5 separate regions of the Homo sapiens genome follow, and regions 1, 2, 3 and 5 are each linked to region 4. Evidence: promoter capture Hi-C in 16 types of primary human blood cells and fetal thymus (Javierre and others, 2016). All regions are on one chromosome and are shown on one strand. The core of a region is centred on a gene start or on the middle of the fragment in contact, and the rest is flanking DNA. Distances in the headings are between cores, read along the strand shown. Region 1 holds the start of HDC (histidine decarboxylase). Region 2 holds the start of SLC27A2 (solute carrier family 27 member 2). Region 3 holds the start of TRPM7 (transient receptor potential cation channel subfamily M member 7). Region 4 holds the start of EID1 (EP300 interacting inhibitor of differentiation 1). Region 5 holds the start of ATP8B4 (ATPase phospholipid transporting 8B4 (putative)).

The links. Contacts are between HindIII fragments. The CHiCAGO score rates a contact against its expected background, and 5 or more counts as called.
Region 1: the fragment with the promoter of HDC here is called in contact with the fragment with the promoter of EID1 in region 4 in 6 of 17 cell types (total B cells, monocytes, neutrophils and 3 more); the score reaches 8.7 in total B cells.
Region 2: a contact is called between the fragment with the promoter of SLC27A2 here and the fragment with the promoter of EID1 in region 4, in 12 of 17 cell types (total CD8 T cells, total CD4 T cells, naive CD4 T cells and 9 more). The highest score is 16.5, in total CD8 T cells.
Region 3: a contact is called between the fragment with the promoter of TRPM7 here and the fragment with the promoter of EID1 in region 4, in 1 of 17 cell types (naive CD8 T cells). The highest score is 7.2, in naive CD8 T cells.
Region 5: a contact is called between the fragment with the promoter of ATP8B4 here and the fragment with the promoter of EID1 in region 4, in 3 of 17 cell types (monocytes, total CD8 T cells and naive CD8 T cells). The highest score is 6.6, in monocytes.

The regions. Positions count from the first base shown.
Region 1 is chr15:50,263,610-50,267,606 of GRCh38, forward strand. It overlaps HDC (histidine decarboxylase), which reads right to left and starts at 2,117. Exons shown (of 12, transcript NM_002112.4): 1 at 1,984-2,117. The coding sequence starts at 2,014. The HindIII fragment of the contact is 18,026 bases long and covers 1-3,997 here.
Region 2 is chr15:50,180,759-50,184,669 of GRCh38, forward strand. SLC27A2 (solute carrier family 27 member 2) reads left to right here and starts at 1,438. Exons shown (of 10, transcript NM_003645.4): 1 at 1,438-2,147. The coding sequence starts at 1,670. It also overlaps a transcript of ATP8B4 not described here. RefSeq lists silencers at 1,330-1,669, 1,940-2,039. The HindIII fragment of the contact is 4,085 bases long and covers 772-3,911 here.
Region 3 is chr15:50,685,207-50,688,866 of GRCh38, forward strand. It overlaps TRPM7 (transient receptor potential cation channel subfamily M member 7), which reads right to left and starts at 1,591. Exons shown (of 39, transcript NM_017672.6): 1 at 1,325-1,591. The coding sequence starts at 1,327. It overlaps LOC128092252, which reads right to left and starts at 1,511. Exons shown (of 4, transcript NM_001414947.1): 1 at 1,325-1,511. The coding sequence starts at 1,511. RefSeq lists enhancers at 679-1,543, 1,073-1,492, 1,803-1,982 and a silencer at 1,543-1,712. The HindIII fragment of the contact is 16,005 bases long and covers 1-3,660 here.
Region 4 is chr15:48,876,785-48,880,627 of GRCh38, forward strand. EID1 (EP300 interacting inhibitor of differentiation 1) reads left to right here and starts at 1,350. Exons shown (of 1, transcript NM_014335.3): 1 at 1,350-3,389. The coding sequence starts at 1,393. The coding sequence ends at 1,956. All of the region lies in intron 4 of SHC4 (SHC adaptor protein 4), which reads right to left. RefSeq lists enhancers at 925-1,034, 1,305-1,604. The HindIII fragment of the contact is 2,982 bases long and covers 1-1,360 here.
Region 5 is chr15:50,117,959-50,122,063 of GRCh38, forward strand. ATP8B4 (ATPase phospholipid transporting 8B4 (putative)) reads right to left here and starts at 1,275. Exons shown (of 28, transcript NM_024837.4): 1 at 1,165-1,275. The HindIII fragment of the contact is 5,193 bases long and covers 1-1,278 here.

The DNA of each region.
Region 1 (3,997 bases), core at 867-3,366, 1.4 Mb after region 4:
ACTAACATGGTCAAACCCCTCTCTACTAAAAATACAAAAAATTAGCCGGGCGTGGTGGCAGGCGCATGTAATCCCAGCTACTTGGGAGGCTGAGGCAGGAGAATCGCTTGAACCTGGGAGACGGAGGTTGCAGTGAGCCGAGATCGTGCCACTGCACTCCAGCCTGGACTCAAAAAAAAGAGAGAGACAGATTCATGGGCCGAGGGTAGGATCTGATCCCCTGCACGACCTTATCTTCAGAATTTAAAAAAAGAGTGAGGGAGTGAATGAATGATGGAGGGAGTTTCTAAGTGAGCAAATGAACAAAAAGGAAAATCTCCAAAGCACAAAACTCTAGCGCCAAAGTGAAACGTTTCATTTTCTTTCCCCTTCCTTTATCCACTTCAATTTTGATTGTCTCTCCTACCTTTCTTTCCTTCTCAGAAACAGAACATCTATTAACTATTTTATAGGTTCAATAGAAACTCTATAGCTCTTTGTATCCAAAAATTGTTACACACACACCCACCAGTTATATCTGTTAGCACAGATAGAAAGATTCCATGCCCAGTTCCGATAAAGGACAAAAAAATCTATTTTTTCACCATCCCCATTGAATCAGTTATTATTCATCTTTTTTGGACTCATATGAGGACTTAATTCAAGAATCTGATTAAAACTGTAGGCTTACATATACACAGAACTTTGTGTATAATTTCTGAGGCTCACAGAATCCCTAAAGCACAACCATGGATCCAGACCAAGCCCCCTGCCCTGGCCTGGGAAATGTGGCACCAAATCTTAATGACTTTCTCTCCCTCCTGCTGCCTCCATCAACACCTCAGTGCTTAGGATATTTTTTAGATGCTAAAAAAAAATGTATCAAGTGAATGAACATATGAGTAAGGAAGGAAAAAAAAGTCAAGTTGAACACTCTGAAACTATTGCAAATTATTTATTCTTTCAGATTGCAGTCTTCAGTGCCTCTGTTGCTGTGTGTGCATGTGTGTGTGTGTACATATCTCTTTGTCTGTCTCAACATCCATTCCTTAGTACTCCCTGGGCTGCTTTTACCTAGGAGAGGGGACTCAGTTTCTCCCCTCTGCATCAGCTTATGCAAAGTTCTTAAGAACAGAACCAACCCCAGACAAAACTTATGAGACAAAGGTAGATTTCCACACCATTCTATCTTCCTTCTGCTCCCCTTCAACCCTCTCACATCCTGGTTCTTCTCCAGCAGGGCCCCACCAGAGATCTGAGAGCTCTAGACCTAACCCTCCACTGATCCAGGAACAGTGCTAAATGTATTTGTGTTCCACTCAGAAGATAAATATCCACAGGAACTTGCTCTCAGCTGACAGTGCCTTAGGAAAGCAATGGAATAAGCTAACGCACACTAATTAGTGAGTAGGAGGATATAAAACATTATAGAAATAGACATTCAAGATTCTTTTTTAAGCAACTACCTACTTTCCTGCTAAGGGAGATCCATGCCTGAGAACTGGATAACCACTTGGTTTTGCCTGATACAGAGTAGGCACCTACTAAATATTTATGAAATGAATGACTAAATGAAAGAACACTGCTGATAGATTCACACATGAAGGAATGAATGTTAAGAAAGAAAGGATTTGCAGTGATTACAGAATATTGAGAAAATTTTTTTCTATTTCAGAATATGAACAATCCCCTTTTCCCATCTAGTGGCTCAGGGATCCAAATCCTCAATTTTGTGGGAAAGTGGGGAGGAAAAGCAAGGCACGGTAGTGTGGACATATGTGAGAGTGGGTATATGAGAGGGAGAATGAAAGAGTGGTTGAGAAAAGTTTTACACTCTGATCCCACATTCCTTTCGCAGAAAAAAAAATGTTGCTGGTGCCAACTCTCAGAAGGCAATTCTAATGCTCCCATCAAATGTCACCCCAGAATCTAAGGGCCACCCACCAGCAGCCGTTCCTGCAGGAGTAGCAGCAGGGAAGAGGGCCAGGGATGCCCGTTGCTCACCTCTCTCTCTGTACTCCTCAGGCTCCATCATCTCCCTTGGGCTCTGGCTCCTTCTCACAGATGGACACGCAGGAGGTGGAAGGCGTGAAAGGCGTGGAGCAGCCCGGCTTCCCTCTTGCCAGTCCTGCGCACTCCCTGGCAGCCAGTGTGGGCCCTTTATTTAAAGGGTTCTTTCTTTGACCTTAGCTCCGCCCTTCAAAGTCCCTTCCTCCAGGTTTAATTAATTCCACCCTTTCTTTCCCCAGTCCTTGTAGAAAACAGCGACCACAACTTTGACTGGTCAAGAGAGCCAGGATAAAAGGCGCTTCTAAATTAAGCAGTGCACTTAGCAACCCAAGCCTGCAGGCAGCCTCCAGGTGGATGCCGTAAAAGAGCCCTCAGTTCTTTCTGCCCCTGGATTCAGACAATAGAGCTCCAGCCTCAGACAAGCTCCCAGCTCAGTAGACCAGAATAAGGCCAAGGGTATGCAGAAAAAGTAGCACAAATTATTAGTATTATTCCTGCCCCTGTTTCCTTATCAGCAGTAGGGAGGGAGGAACAGGCACTAATAGTGATGCCCCCTGTGCCCAGGAACAGGCAGAAGTTATCATTGACCACAATGGATTTTTCTATTACAACATACTATCTGTTGTTGCAAAGAATGAAAAAACACAGTTATAAGCCAAAAAGAATAGAAATTAAAACATCACCCCAAATTAATCACTTTTAGCACTTAAAGAAGTAGAAGGGGGGCGTGTAAAGGGACCTGCAGAAACCCCTGTAGGGAGGGGAAACACTATCCTTGGGGTTTGATTTCTGAGTAAAAAGTAATCCAACGTTTTCACGTTGCTAAATGCAATAGTCTTTCTTGTTTATTTGTTTCCAGTCGTCCTTCTGGTTCTCTTGGTGGCATTTTATTTGTTACTACTTCATCCTTGCAGCTCACAGTTTCTCTGGGCTTTCCTCCTACATCTCTGGCTGTTTGTTTCCTCCAATGCTGGCACACCTCAGGGCATTGCCCTCCTTTCATCTTTCTGCTTTGGTGGCATTGCCCATTTCTAAGGCTTTTTTTGTTTTGTTTTGTTTAGACGGAGTCTTGCTCTGTCGCCCAGGCTGGAGTGCAGTGGCACAATCTTGGCTCACTGCAACCTCTGCCTCCCGGGTTCAAGCAATTCTCCCACCTCAACCTCCTGAGTAGCTGGGCCTACAGGTATGTGCCACCATGCCCCACTAATTTTTGTGTTTTTAGCAGAGATGGGGTTTCACCATGTTGGCTGGGTTTGTCTCGAACTCCTGACCTCAAGTGATCCACCCGCCTCAGCCTCCCAAAGTGCTGGGATTACAGGTGTGAGCCACTGCGCCCGGCCCATTTCTTAGGCTTGAAATGTTACCTATGTGATATCCGTATAGGTTTAAACATACCATCAGGCCCTCCCTGTCTTTTGAGCTTCAAAATCTTATATCCAACTGCCTTTCTGACAAATCCTCTCTTATGACTCTGAGGCACCTCAAACTTAACGTATTGCAAAACTGTCTTTCCCCAAAAATATGCCCCACTTCTAGTCTTCCCCATCTCAGTTCATCATCTCTCCATTTTCCATCCACCCATCTATTCACCCCTTGACCGTCCATTCATCCAACCACTCATCCATCCAACCACCATCCATGCATCCATCTATCCTTTCATCCATCCATTCATCCACCCAAATGCTGAAGGCATAAACCTGGTGTCTTCCTTCCCCTTCACTTTCCCTGCTCCCTGCCCAATTCAATCTGTTCAGATTCAGTTCTATTTCCAAAATAAATCTAGTCTGTCAAATTCTCCCCATTTCCATGACTACCACCCTATTCCGGTCCAAGCCACCATTATCCTTCACCTAGACTAATGCAGGAGGCTTCTCATTGGCCTGTTACTGACCATGGGTTCTTGGGCTCTCAATGTAATAGAAATTGAGAAGGCCAAAAGAGTTTTCCCAGACAGGGCATTATCAGAGCTTATGCCCAGGCATAAGGGAGACAGCACGAGAGAGAGAAT
Region 2 (3,911 bases), core at 188-2,687, 1.3 Mb after region 4:
CAGGGAAATGATGCAACCAGGTAGCTGGATCAGAAATGAAAAAGTCAGGAAAAGGGAAAGGTTGCTTGCGCAGTTACTAGGGATACGAAAAGGAGGCTAAAAAACGGCAGGGGGTGGCCTGGAGGGAATGTGAAACATTTTTGTGTGTTTTACACACACCGAAAAAAAAAGAGGACATGGACAGAAACCTAGAGAATAGGAGGACAGCATAGTATAGTTACTAAGAATAAGCTAAGAGTTGGTTCCCCGGGACCAAACAGATACCATTTCCAAAACCCACGAATTACTTACCGGCTGTCTCAATTCACCTAAGCTTCCCTTTCTTGTCTGTAAATGAGCATGAAAGTGCCACCTGTATAAAATAACTCAGGCTCCCAAAATGTAACATAGGGAAGCTCCTAGCAGCGTGTCTGGGAGGAATAAGCATTATCTGTATTTATCGTATCAAATTAAGATAGAGGAACACAGGAGGACAGTAGAGGATGAAAATAAAACACTACTTAGATCCTGACCCTCCTCAGTGGCAAGTAGTGAGCATTCACTTCGTACAGAAGTAGCACTAAGGCAAATTAAAAGAAAGGTTCACATTTCCTCTAAAAGAAATGGTTTTTGAGTCATGCCAATACCACTTACTCAATGTCCTCTGTACTATACTATTCTCTGACAGAGCCACTTATTAAATGTGTGAACTGTGCTGACAACACTTGACAACTTTCAACATGAGGGAACAGCAGGATCACTTAACAGAACAAAATCGTAAAATAATGTCAAAGCTTGATTTCAGGTGGTGCGGTGTAGCACTGCTCTTCACGAAATCAGGACTCCCCCGACCAGGCAGGGCCGACTAGGTTAGAGTGTCCTGCCCTCACTCACCTGGCAGGGCTTGGGATGAGCTGGACGTGACTGCCACAGGCATTTCTGTTCAACCTTGAAGCCTTCGCTACAGGAGACCGCCTGGCAGTCGGGCTGGGAAGCAAATCTGAGAAACAAAGAGAGACCAGGCGGAAAGCCCTTGGGACCAGGAAGGAGAGATGAGATTCTGGTTTGGCAGTGGCACCTGGTACCCGCTATTAATAAATAATAGGACTGTCTGACATTTATAAGGCACTTTATCGGTAATAACAGTGTCATCTCCATAAGCCATTCTATTAGTGGTAACAAATAATAGCCCCACGCCTGCAATATCTCCTTTAATATTCCCAACGTCCGCTAAGCGCGTCTCATCACCATTTAAAGAAACCGTGGCTCCTAGAGGTAAAGTACTTCGGTCACAACGCGAGGAGGTCCAGACTTGACCCCAGACCTCCAGACTCGAGCTGGGAAGTGGCCGAGGCTCCTGGTGAGCCGCAGGGCAGCCTGCCCAGCCCCGGGAGGACCGCGTGGGAGGGCCGGGAGAGCAGGTGGCTGCCCCCCACAAGGGGGCGGGCTCAGCCGGCCAGTCCTGCCCGGAACCCCCGGCAACGCGCATACGACTACACCTGCTCCGGAGCCCGCGGCGGTACCTGCAGCGGAGGAGCTCTGTCTTCCCCTTCATCTCACGCGAGCCCGGCGTCCCGCCGCGTGCGCCCCGGCGCAGCCCGCCAGTCCGCCCGGAGCCCGCCCAGTCGCCGCGCTGCACGCCCGGGGTGAACCCTCTGCCCTCGCTGGGACAGAGGGCCCCGCAGCCGTCATGCTTTCCGCCATCTACACAGTCCTGGCGGGACTGCTGTTCCTGCCGCTCCTGGTGAACCTCTGCTGCCCATACTTCTTCCAGGACATAGGCTACTTCTTGAAGGTGGCCGCCGTGGGCCGGAGGGTGCGCAGCTACGGGAAGCGGCGGCCGGCGCGCACCATCCTGCGGGCGTTCCTGGAGAAAGCGCGCCAGACGCCACACAAGCCTTTTCTGCTCTTCCGCGACGAGACTCTCACCTACGCGCAGGTGGACCGGCGCAGCAATCAAGTGGCCCGGGCGCTGCACGACCACCTCGGCCTGCGCCAGGGAGACTGCGTGGCGCTCCTTATGGGTAACGAGCCGGCCTACGTGTGGCTGTGGCTGGGGCTGGTGAAGCTGGGCTGTGCCATGGCGTGCCTCAATTACAACATCCGCGCGAAGTCCCTGCTGCACTGCTTCCAGTGCTGCGGGGCGAAGGTGCTGCTGGTGTCGCCAGGTGAGCCCCGAGGATCGCCCTGCCCTGGCACCAGGGCTTCTCGGCGCCTTGACTGACGAGCCACAGCGTGGCATAAGGGGTTCGCAGAGGGAGGTTCAGATCGGAACTGTAGGTATAGAAAAAGGTTGGCAGTGTTTCCTTGAATCGCAAATAATGATCTTTTAGGACCACCTGTTGTGGAAGCTGATAATGTGCTAGGTTCTGTGTTAAGCACTCTACAGGCAGTGTGGTTTTTAATCCTCACAATGGGTAGGCTTTGTTATAGGACTTTTATAGATGAGACCACTGAGGTCCTGAGAGGTGAAGCCTCATGCCCAGCCATCTATCTCCAAATTCCAAGCTCTTAATCAATACTTATAACATCTGCATTAAAATGCAGAGGATCTTGAGTGCGAACTCTAGTGGATCCAGAGGGGCTCTTCTCACCTCTGCTGCTTGACTGGCTGTGTGATCATGGGAAAGTCACTTCTCCTCTCTGTCCCTTGGTTTGCTCCTCTCTAATGAGGCAGGCTTCAATGTTGCTTCCAGCTCTCAACTGCTGTTAGCATCCTGTCCCCTCCCTGCAGAACAAAGGTGACCCCACCTGATCCCCAGGGAGAAGATACTGGGGATCTGCTACAGGACCGTTGTGAGCCCCCACTGCATCTATCACAATAGTGACCCTTTCAGTTCTGTGGTTAGCTCCTGCCACATTTCAGCCAGACTTGAAACAGTAACTTAAGTGATGACAAGGTCAGGAAGTGACAGAGAACCTGTTACTCACAGGGCTGATGGCTTTCCCCTCCCAGAGAGCTTGTCTCTGCACTTGAATAAGGACCAAGGGTTCCTTCTCTCAGTCAGTAAGAAGAGGCCTACACAGGAGTGGGCTGAAAGACCTGGGTGACAGGGTAGGGGTCGAGGGAGCCGAGGAGCCTCAGCTTTCTAGAATGCATTTCTGTGCTAAGCCCTATAGTAGATGCTTTTATTACCCCGGGAGATAACATATCACTATCCCCACCACCACCACCACCATTATACAGTTGAGAAAACTGAGGCTTAAAATTCCAACCTAGCTCTATCCAACTTCGAAGCCATGCTCTTTCCTACATCTTTTTTTTTTTTTTTTTTGACAGTCTCGTTCTGTTGCCCAGGCTGGAGTGCAGTGGCGCTATTTCAGTTCACTGTAACCTCTGCCTCCCAGGCTCAAGCGATCCTCCCAGCTCAGCCTCTCAAGTAGCTGGGACCACAGGCATGCACCACCATGCCCAGCTAATTTTTTGTTATTTTTGGTAGAAACAGGGTTTCACCATGTTGCCCAGGCTGGTCTCAAACTCCTGAGATCAAGCGATCCACCCACCTTGGCCTCGCAAAGTGCTGGGATTACAGGTGTGAGCCACCACACCCAGCCTCTTTCCTACATCTTATTGTTTTCCTCTGCATGGATGTAAACTGTTAAGTGTGCTGGAAGGGATGAAGTGTCCACTTGCTCTACCCCTTCATTTCATAGCTGGGGAAACTGAGGCAAGCTAAGCGGGTTACAGAAAGATGAAAGGTTAATTCACTTGTGAGAAACCAGGAATCTTACACACCTGCTTCATGTGGCATGAAATAAATAATCCAAAAAATATAGGCTTTGTATAAAAGTTTAAAAGCAGAAAGCCAAATTTTAGGCTGGGCGCAGTGGCTCAAGCCTGTAATCCCAGCACTTTGGGAGGCCGAGGCAGGTGGATCACTTGAGGTTAGGAGTTCAAGACTAGCCTGGCCAACATAGCAAAAACCCCGTCT
Region 3 (3,660 bases), core at 341-2,840, 1.8 Mb after region 4:
AATCCCAGGACTTTGGGGGGCTGAGGCGGGCGGATCACCTGAGGTCAGGAATTAAGAGACGAGCCTGCCAAACATGGTGAAACCCCGTCTCTACTAAAAATGCAAAAATTAGCCGGGCATGGTGGCTACAGTCCCAGCTACTCGGGAGCCTGAGGCAGGAGAATCGCCTGAATCCCGGAGGCGGATGTTGCAGTGAGCGGAGATCGCGCCACTTCACTCCAGCCTGGGCGACAGAGTGAGACCCTGTCTCAAAACAAACAAACAAAAAAGAATAAGGTGGAAAATAGTGAAAGACACATTATTTATTCAAAGTATTACTACATTTGTGTTATAAGTAAAACTCTTATTTTAGTTTTGTATGGCACTTGAATTAGCGTCCAGTGAAAAGCAAACTTGCCAGACTCCAGCAGAGGGAGAGTTGTTTGCATAAAGCCTATCAAATTCAAGTACTGACCAAAAATACCTACTTTGCTCTTCATGTCCCTGATGTAAATGACTTTCTTAAGAAATCTTCAAAATTGGTTCCTGATATCCAAAAATAAAAAGCTCTATCGGAAGCTGCAATGCACCGCCTCCCTCTCTCCATTCCGCACCTTTCGGTTTAAAACACGATCAACTGTTCTCTGGGGCAAGGGATGCGGTAGTTCGACTTAAATCCTGACTGACAGTACATTGTCTTGGTCCCCACAGAAGCCTCCCCCCACCCACCAAAATCCTTAATTCTTGCTAAAGAAAAAAGATCTACCATCAATATTGTCAAATCCCTCCCTTTTGGTTCCAAAAAGGAAATGTACCTGTAGAGTATCCGCTGCACAGCAAACAAGGCACTGCTCCAAACCCGTGTCCTCTACCCCCTTTTTGCACCCTTCTAGCCCTCCCTCCCTTTTTTCCATGTAAAACTTGAGCAGAGCATTTGGTTCCCTTATCTGCCAGCAACTGGCGCCAGGAGGACCGTGCTCCCAGGAGATGCGGAGCTTGTAGGCTGAGCCCTGCGTCGGGCGCGCTGAGGCCGCTCAGCTGAGCCCAGCCAGGTAGTCCCGGGCTCGCGCCTCTGCCGCCTGGAGAGGCCCTCGCTGGGAGCCGAGTCTCGGCTCAGGGGATTCCCGCGAAGAGGTGTCGCCTCTAACTTGCTACCTGCTCCCGCCCCTCACCCCAGAACGAACTGCACACCCGTCCCGAGAGGACAAATCCGGAAGCCTCAAGGCAATTCGAGGGTCCTTCGCCGCATGGAACGCGGCTCCCCACACACTTGCCTGCCAAGTCTCTCCTTTACCGCCCGCAACCCCAGAACCATTCCCCGCCCGGGCCTGCGTGGGTCCAGTACCATTCTCCTCACGGGGCGGACTCCGGAAGGGCAGCAACTCCACCTCCTCCTCCTCCGCGGCCTGTAGCCATCTATCGGGAAGCGTCTCCGGAGGCGGCAGCAGAGGCCGCCGGACAAGGAACGCCCAGGGAAACCTTCTCAGAACTAACTCAGCTCCGGCGCTAGCAGCAGAAGCCGAGTCTTTCATAATTGTGCGACCAACTCCTCCGGGTGACTGGCCACAGGGACGCGCCCGCGCCCGCCTCCGCCGGCGACGGGGCTGGGGACGGACCACGTGAGCGGCGCGGCGCGGCGCGTGCGTCGCCGCCCGCGGGTCGGGTCACGTGAAGGGCGCGCGCTCCCTCGATTCCAGGCCGCCTCCCTGCGCGCCGCGCGCACGCGCTGGGCAGGTTCGCGCCGCCACGCCGACCGCCTCTGGGTTCCCAGAAAGTGGTGGGGTGTTCACGCCGTATCTCCGTTGGGTACCTAGGCGGGACTTAGACAAACTTCAGCCTCAGCTACGAGAGTGGAACTTGGGGAATCGGAGGTTGAGGGTTAAGGTTCAAGGCTTGCGGATCCAGTCTGGAGTTGCTGTGTGGGCTCATTCCGCTAACTAGGCCTGGCCTGTGCCGACTCGCTCCAGCAAACTCGAGTGTCGCAACACACTCTGTGTGCTTCAGAGCGAGTAGAGGCTTTAAATGTTACTCTCTCCTCGTCCAAAATGCAGAATCATCTTTTTACCCCAATCATGTTCTTTCTCTAGCCTCTCCTGTTGCTGCCGGTAAATATTCTTCTTTGTTTAACTATGGGACTGTCTTTTTCCCTCCAGAGATACTCACCCACATACACGCATACACCACACCTTCTGCACCAAAAACTGGGTTGTTCCCTTGATGTAATATGTACCTATCCACCTTTCCATTTATTTTGCTGTCACACATGCCAAGGTTTGGCTATTAGCAATGGTTTACTAAATGTTATTCCTTATCTACTGGGAAGACCACAATCAGTTTAATTTTCTTAAAACTGCTTTAACATCTTTCTGCTCCTGAAGTCTTCGAGAGTTCCTCAATCTGACCCTCAGGGATCTGACTGTCTTATCTCTTTTTTAAAAACGACTTTATTTTAAAATAATTGACATGACAAACTGCACGTATTTAAATGTCCAATTTGATAAGTTTTGACATACCTGTGCACCCATGAAATCACCATAATCAAATGAACGTATTCACCTCTAAGTTTCCTCCCCCCCCTTCATAATCCCTTCATCTCGTCCCTCTCCATCACGTCCCTTATCAACTACAGATCTACTTTCAGTACAGATAAGTTTGCACATGCTAAAGTTTTATATACGGGAATCATACAGCACGCACCTTTTTTTTCCGTCTAACTTCTTTCATTCAGCATAATTATTGCCTCTCAAACATTATGACCCACAATTCACTGAAGTAGGATCTTCTCTCAGAAAAAAAACTAATCCACCCACTGGTTCCCCCAGCTTGTGAACAATCTTCAGGTATTGTGTATTTCTTCCCCATCTGGCAGGTCCAGCAGAACCAAGACTTAAAAATGTTTTAATATATGTGTCACACTAAATTGTCAGCCTTGGGGAAGGCATCTTGACTAATTTATGCATGCAGTCAATAAATGTTTATCTTCTGGATTTCAGTTGGGCCTACACATTTCCTGCCTGTAGGGAGTTTATAATCTAGAAGGTAGAGGCAGACAAACTGGAAAATCAAAATAAAATGAGATTAGAGTGCTTTGTTTCGTTAGAACTTTGTAACTCTGGTCTTTTTGTACTCACGAATGCTTCGCTCCTTAGTTGGATGGTGTAGAAATGAAACAAGATGAGCTCCTTGGCACTTGCCAGAACTCTTTGGTAAATTGGAAAATTTAGAGTTAGAAATGGGGAACAGGATTGGGTGGGCGCGGTGGCTCATGCTTGTAATCCCAGCACTTTGGGAGGCCGAGGCGGGTGGATCACCTGAGGTCAGGAGTTCTAGACCAGCCTGGCCAACACGGTGAAACCCCGTCTCTACTAAAAATACAAAAATTAGCTGGGCATGGTGGCAGGCGCCTGTAATCACAGCTACTCGGGGGGCCGAGGCAGAAGAATCGCTTGAACCCAGGAGGCAGAGGTTGCAGTGAGCCGAGATCGCGCCATCTCACTCCAGCCTGGGGGACAAGAGCAGGACTTCGTCTCAAAAAAAAAAAAAAAAAAAGAAAAAGAAAAGAAATGGGGAACAGGATTTATCCTTAATTGAACTAATCAAAATAAATTCCTTAATTTTCAAGTGATCAACCAGCCTTGAAATTCACAGATGCTGACTTTCAATCAGCAATCAATTCTGGAG
Region 4 (3,843 bases), core at 100-2,599:
CTGCCTTTCGCAGCCCACTGACTCAAATGTTAATCTCCTTTGGCAACACCCTCACAGACACACCAATGATCAATACTTGTATCCTTCAATCCAATCAAGTTGACACTCAGTATTAACCATCACACTTCTCATCCACAAAAGACGGAATGGATCTGTGACCCATTTGTGAATAAGCCAGGTGAATCCACTTTGTCCACGCTAGAAGAGGATCAACTGCTTGATATTGCAAATGACGGTGGCCTTAAAAGTATGTTTGAGACAACTTCAAATCTCCATACGTTCTCGATTAAAGTCAAGGCGGAACATCCTGAGATTGCCACAAAAGTACTGAAAAGCCTCCTTCCATTTTCAACATCCTATCTTTGTGAGGCAGGATTTTCCACAGTAACAGCAACCAAAATGAGATTACAGAATAGACCGGACATAAGGAACACACCTCGGGTGTCACTGTGTCTCATCACCCCCAGATGGGACCATCTAGTTGCAGGAAAACAAGCTCAGGGCTCCCATTGATTCTACATTATGGTGAGTTGTATAATTCTACATAACTATAATGTAATAATAATAGAAATAAAGTGCAGAATAAATGAAATGTGCTTGAATCCTGTAAGTATACACAGTCATATAATTCATATAAGTATATACAACTTAAAACCTGAGGCTTTTAAGTTGAAGGTAAAAACAGGTAAAACATGTTTTTAAAAAACACACAAAATAGTATTTTGCTGTCAATACATAAAGATACATGTAAATGCAAATAAAAAGAATTCAAAGAATACACACCGCATTGCTAATAGTGGAAAGATACCTCCCAGGCGAAAAGAAATGGGACCAAGTATTTCTTCACTATAACTAAAAAAAAAAAAAGTACAATATATCTGTTGTTTGTGAATTTAACTTTTTAAATGAAAACACTAAAAGGACAAAATGGATTAGTTCTTAATATGCTGATCTGTGGTTATGGATGTTGTCTGGTTTGGAGACGTGGATTTACAAGTCATCAGTACATCGGTAAATTGCCCAGGGGAAGAGGAAGGGGGGGAAGGAGCATTAAATGTTACGAAGGCCATGTAAGGTTATTTTCCGGTTTGCAGCATTACAAGCAGCAGTAGGGTTAAGTAACACAGAAACTGTTACGCTCTTGCATGCAGGGTCCCTAGATACGAAGTTCGAATCGATGGAAACGTAGCTCAAAAGGCGACGCCAACACCCCGGAGAAAACACTGAGCTACTCCAACCACAGTGGCGCGCCAAGTAGGAGGCGGTACCTGAGGACCACGCCTGCGCGCGGGGTTACGCAAGCGCGCAGCCTTTGCGCACGCGCACGAACGCACGGCCGCGCAGCATCTGTCTTGCTGGAAGCTTTTTCCTAGAGGTTGAGCGGTTTGCACAATGTCGGAAATGGCTGAGTTGTCCGAGCTGTATGAAGAGAGCAGTGACCTGCAGATGGATGTGATGCCTGGCGAGGGTGACCTTCCGCAGATGGAGGTAGGCAGCGGGAGCCGGGAGCTATCCCTGCGTCCCTCCCGCAGCGGGGCCCAACAGCTCGAGGAGGAAGGCCCAATGGAGGAGGAGGAGGCCCAGCCAATGGCGGCGCCAGAGGGGAAACGGAGCCTTGCTAACGGGCCCAACGCTGGGGAGCAGCCAGGCCAGGTGGCGGGCGCAGACTTCGAGAGCGAGGACGAGGGCGAGGAATTTGATGACTGGGAGGACGACTACGACTATCCCGAAGAGGAGCAGCTCAGTGGTGCCGGCTACAGAGTATCAGCCGCTCTTGAAGAAGCCGACAAGATGTTTCTGAGAACAAGAGAACCAGCCCTGGATGGCGGGTTTCAGATGCATTATGAGAAGACCCCGTTTGATCAGTTAGCTTTTATCGAAGAGCTTTTTTCACTGATGGTTGTCAATCGTCTGACCGAAGAACTCGGCTGTGATGAGATTATTGATAGAGAGTAGTTAGATGCTGTTAAAAGAGGAGGAAACTACTTGAGGAGGGACCCAACTTTCCGCTATCTTTTGGGTTCATTCCAAATAGTTTTGTGCCATTGAAAAACTTGACCTTCAAAAAAATTTGTTTTTCAGAATAGAACACAATAGGACAGTGACTGCACAGTTGTGAAAAAGGAAGAGAATCATTAAAGAAAAAGAAAAAAGATTTTAAGACCGTTGAAATCAATTATCAAGAACGTCCTAAAACACCTATGGCTTTGACTTTGTTATTGATCCAGATTATTTTCCTTGCATTGGGGAAAATATCTTTCATATTTGTTTGCTGTAAAGATGGTTTTGCAAGAATAAGTCATGACCAAGACAAACTGCCAATACAAAAGCCCACTGATACTAATTATATAATGAGAAAAAAATGTATCCAACTAGGACACATATCTTTTGAGTTATTTGGACTGAAAGCTTAAGAAAACTTGGAAAATTCTATTTTGTGATCTAGTCAAGCCACAGTTATCAAAGGCTACATTTTCAGTGTAAGATAAATGGATGAGTAAACTCAAATATGTATCACGTGTGCTTTGTATCTTAAGATGTGTTTCCAAGAGCATCTGAAATTTTGTTTGTACATGTATCTTGATCATTTATAAAGCCACTGTGATCTATAAATCAAGAAAATCCATTGTCATAACCATTTTTAAAAGTCAAAAATTAAGACATCCTTAATTAAAAAGTTTCAAATCTAGACACTAAATGTGTGTGAATGTACAAAGAAAACAAACCATTGCTTATGCTGTTATATACTAGAGAAATTTTGTTTTGCTTGCTGTTTTAACTTGACAGATGAAGGACTTTAGTTGAACTTCATATTGTAAGAACTGTTAATAAAAGTTGTCAAGTAAAAAGCGCTATATCTAAAAAGACTTTATGAACAGTTATTCTATCAACTTTTAAAGGTTTTAAACCTGCCCAGAAATTACCTTGGTATCTGAAGTTTCCCTCTGTCTCCTCCTCTAATTAAGCTTGTTATTTGTCATGCACCAGCATTGGAGATAATAAAATTTCTTGTTCTGTGTATTTTGTTTGGCTAATAGTATTGCATACATACTTTCTCTGTATACTACTTTCTATTGTATGTGTTAACCAGTATTAAGGGAAAATGATCCAGCTTCAGCTATCTAATTCACAAATTAATTTCTGGAAATTAAACTTTGTAAATTAAGTTTTTGCCTATAAGAATTTGCTGGTCTGGGAAAACCTGCCCTATCAATGAGTATGTTGCCGTGGTTACCTTACTAAGATGCTGAAGTTCTAGGAGAGTAATGATTACATCAGAAGGCTAGGTTCAGCAAAATAAGTGTATCAGCAGGTTTTATCATGATCAGTAAAAATGTTCCAAATGCTTCTGCTCCATTATAGCAGTAAAGAACGAATATCCAATGCAACAGGACAATTCAGAGCCTTATTTATTTTATGGTCATCCTGTCTTTTGGGGAGAGAGATCTGTAAAAGATAGGACTGTGACAAGGCTGATCAGAATTGCTCAGACACTAGCTGGGTTAGGAGGGAGAGATGGTGGAAGTAAAATGTTGGTGCTTAGACTTAATCCTACTGCCTCTTCCACTGCTTTCTCAATTAGCGTGCAGCTACGGTCAGATGAGTGTGGATAGGTAATTAATTGCATGGATGATGTAAATTAGTGTGGGTGGGGGTATGCTAGTGCACAATAAACTGGCTGGTTGTATTTACCTCCAGATCTTTATCTTTACCAGGAAAGTTTATCTTTACTAGGAAAGATAAACTCTTGGAAAAAAAAATCTGAGGTCCACAAACTAGAAGGTTGTGATTCTGTTTTTCTCTGGGACTGAGTAGGGCAAAGAGGTGGGGGTGGGAAACACT
Region 5 (4,105 bases), core at 25-2,524, 1.2 Mb after region 4:
TGAAGGTAGAGAGGGAGAATGGTGGTTACCAGAGGTTAGGAAGGGGAAGAGGAAGAAGGGGGTGAAGGTAGGCTGGTTAATGGGTACAAACATACAGTCAGATAGAAGGAACAGGTTCTAGTATTTGATAACACGGTAGTATGACAATAGATAATGATAATTTATTTTTTATTTATAATAAACGATATAGATATAAACGATAAAATAAACGATATAGATAATGATAATTTATTGTATCTCAAAATAGCTAGCAGATTTGGAATGTTCCCAACACAAAGAAATGGTAAATGTTTGAGGTGATATATATGCTAATTACACATCGTATGCATATACCAAAATATCACATGTACCCCATAAATATGTGCAGTTATTACATATCACATAAAAAATAAAAAATACATTTAAAAAAATCAAAACTGAAATCACTCTGAGTTTACATTTTGTAGTAAAGGCCAGCATGGAGCAACAGCTGAGTAAAAGGGGATACTTCATGGGCACAGGTGTTGGTAATCCCACAAGAAAACCTGTGTTTCCTCATTTACTTTCTAACAAGACTTCAGCTTCCAATTAATGTTTTTCACCAGTTTTCTTTTCTTCAAAACAGCTAATTGTTAACCAGGGACCTGAGACACTCTCTTGCCTATAAACAAAACAACTAGAAGGATACCTTTTTCTGTTCAGACAAATTTTAGCACTAAAAACATAACCCTCAAACCTCAGAGGGATAGCTCAGTGCAAACTGTTCATGTCTAAAGCATAAATTGACCATAAACAATATATTGAATAGGTGCACTGTATACAAACCCCGTGAAAAAAATAAAACCAACTACTACCAAAGGAAGTGACAAAGACCTACAAACCAAGAAGAAATGTACCTTTATGCTACTATCATTGGTCATTTAATAGGCATGCTAACAGAGTAAAAAATAGACATTTCAAACAACAAAAAAGAAAATGTCACATCTCCCATTTCCAACTAACTCCCCCAAATTTATTTTTTAGCAAAAGGGGAATAATAAAGAATATTTGTGAAACCTTAGTCACCAAGATGAAAACAGCAAAACAAAATAGGGATCTGGAGAAAAGAAACAGATCGTTCCAACCAGCCCACAGCTAAATTTCCACTTCATCTCACTAACCATTGAATGCTACCCATCTACTCACCTCAACCCAGACTTAATCCTCTCCCCCAAAAGGAAGATTTCTCAGCAGTGCAGGAAGATCAAACAGGTATCCATTCCGTGACCATGCCAAGGAGAAAAGCAAGGCTACTCTGAAAGCTTGAGGGATGATACAGAAAACAAACTGGGTCTCTAGGGGGCATTCTCAAAAACCTGAGATCAACTCCTGGAAAAACACTCTTGACCACTTACCACCACCGGAAGCTGCTAGATGGCAATCAGAATCAGCATCTCATCAGAAGAAGAGGAAGACCTTACAAGAAAGCAGCTTCACTGTCAGTGAGGAATTGAGGGAGAAAAGCACTCCTTGGAAAAATGCTGAAAGCCCTGAAGAGCCTCTCCTCCCCTAGTTGCCTGCTCCTGCTGACAGGACAGAACTGGTTAATCTTGGGGAAACAAAAGGAAACTCCCAAGAGGCTGGCTTCTGAGGATGGCTTCCTCTGTGGGAATCAAGAATTCAGGAGGATGAAAATGAACAATGGAAGGGGACACCGGCTACCAGGCCTACTTACCAAACTTTTACCAGCCCTTGACTGAGGAAGATAAGCAAATCTGTTTGCAGTTCCCACCTGCTTTTGCAGAGATGAAAGAATCAGCAGTGGGTTTTTGTCACTTTTTTTTTTTTTTTTTTTTTTTTTTTACAGGGGAAGTTCAGCTCTCTTATGGATGAAAGCTAAGCATACTCAAGTGACATTTAGTAGGCAAAGCAATGACACTTCTTTCCCAACATCCTTAATTTCAGCACAGAGGATGCAAACATTAACCCTGATGGTACCAAAGAACAAATGCACATAGGAAATGGATTTACATCTTTTAGTTTGGAATTGCTTTTAAGGGGATTCTGGTTGTTAAAGCGGGATTAGATGAAAATAAAATATTTTGGTGCATATCTATTTTTAAAAGGAAAAATATGGCTTCTTTTAAATATGCCTAAAGCCATCTAGGAATTTTCCAGAAGTTGCATCAGATTTGCCAGTTAAGTACTGAAATCAAATAGATTTTAATCATGTCTCTATAACCAGAGCAAGCTAATCCCCTGCGCACCATCAACTCCACTCTCCTGGAACATCCTCACGCTGGGCCCTCAGGTTTTCACAGAAACAAGGGCCTTTTCCTACCAAGGTTCCACAGTAACAAGAAACTACAGATTTCTGGAAATAAGAGAGATGGCTTTCTTTCTTACATGATAAAAGAGGACCAAGAACAGCTTAGAGCAGGAAGCAATCATCTCTTTAAAATATTTAAAATAAAAAACACTTTTAAGTGAAAAACATTTTTAAGTATCACCTCTATACCATTTTTAAACCTATCATATGGGGCAAATATAAGTTTGGTAATTCCCTTTGTTAAAGAAGATATAAGGAAATCAGGGCCTTTTCCTTTTCCTATACTGTTAGTGGGAATATAAATTGGTAAAATATTTTTTAAAGGAAACTGAGTATAGTAGTGCCTATCAAGTATTGAAATGTGTATGTGTTTTTATTTCTTAGGAATTTACCTTATAGAAAACCACACACACGTGCAAACATATCTCTAAATATGTTAATTATAGCACTATGATAGCAACAACAAAAAAACACCTAAAAATGGCTTACATATAAGAGACTGCCTAAATAAGTTAAGGTATATTGATACAAAAGAGTACTATGTAGCCATTCAAAAGAGGGTAGAATTGGAGTAAGGAATCAGGTCATCTGAGTTTAGTTCTGTCTCCACCAGTGACTGGCCAGGTGACTATGCAAGCTCCTACACTTATCTGGGCCATCTGTAAAAAGATGATCATTATAGAACTTACCTCATAGGATTGTTGCAACTAAAACAGTGCCTGGAGCAAAGTAGAGACTCAATAAATTTAGCTATTATAAATAAGAGATAGGCCTCTTCAGACTGACATAGAAAAAGATGTCCAAGATGTACTGTCAAGTGAAAAGATCAAGTTGCAGAAGAATTGTGTATAAGATAATCTCATTTTTAAAAAATATTTTAAATGTGCTCGCTGTTTATTGTCTCCCTCCCACTAAAATAAAAGCTCCTTGAGAGCAGGGACTTTTGTTTACTGTTGAACTCCTGGTGTCCATAATAAGCACTCATGAATAATGAATAATGTCGAATGAATAATGATAACAGCAAGGCTCAGCAAGAAGAATAGGTGAATTCACAGAGACAGAAAGAGTAGAGGCTACCAAGGGCTGCAGGAAGAGAGTATGGGAAGGTATTGTTTAATGGGTACAGGGTTTCAGATTGGGATGATGGAAAAGTCCTGGAGATGGATAATGGTGATAGTTATACAACACTGTGAATGTACTTAAAGCCACTGAACTGTACACTTAAAGGTAGTTAAAATGATAAATGTCATGTTATGTATACCTAGCACAACTTTTTCAAAAATTTCTACTTTTTCTTCATAAGGAGTAGAAAGACGGGGAACAGAGAAGGATGTCCATCTTATAGAGGACTATTACTAGTGTGACTGCAAACCCTTGCTAATCAGAAAACAGTTTAAATTCTCGATTTAGGATACAAGAAAAAAAAAACCTTTTATTCCCATTATACAAAGGTAGCTAAACAGAGCTTAAACTTTCATCCCTATTAGGCAGTATGTGCACTGTCAGAACGCCAGGTCTGTGTTTTCAAGAGGCCTTATTTTGTTTTAAAGCCTTACTTTTGACAAACGTCCTTTATGTCTGTAGTCTAGAGTTTTCAAAGTGCTTTCTCAAGGATCATCTCAACTTGTCCTGACAAAAATCTCGTGATCATATTAAAGGAATTTTAATTAAGTATCTGAGCATTTGAGAGAAAAAAAGAATTCTGAATTTACTCACTCTTTTACCTTGTTCTCCAACTTTACACACATTTCATCAAAACGAAGAGATGGAAATTTTTATTCTTAAGAATCTGAAACCACACAACTATAAGTCTAATAT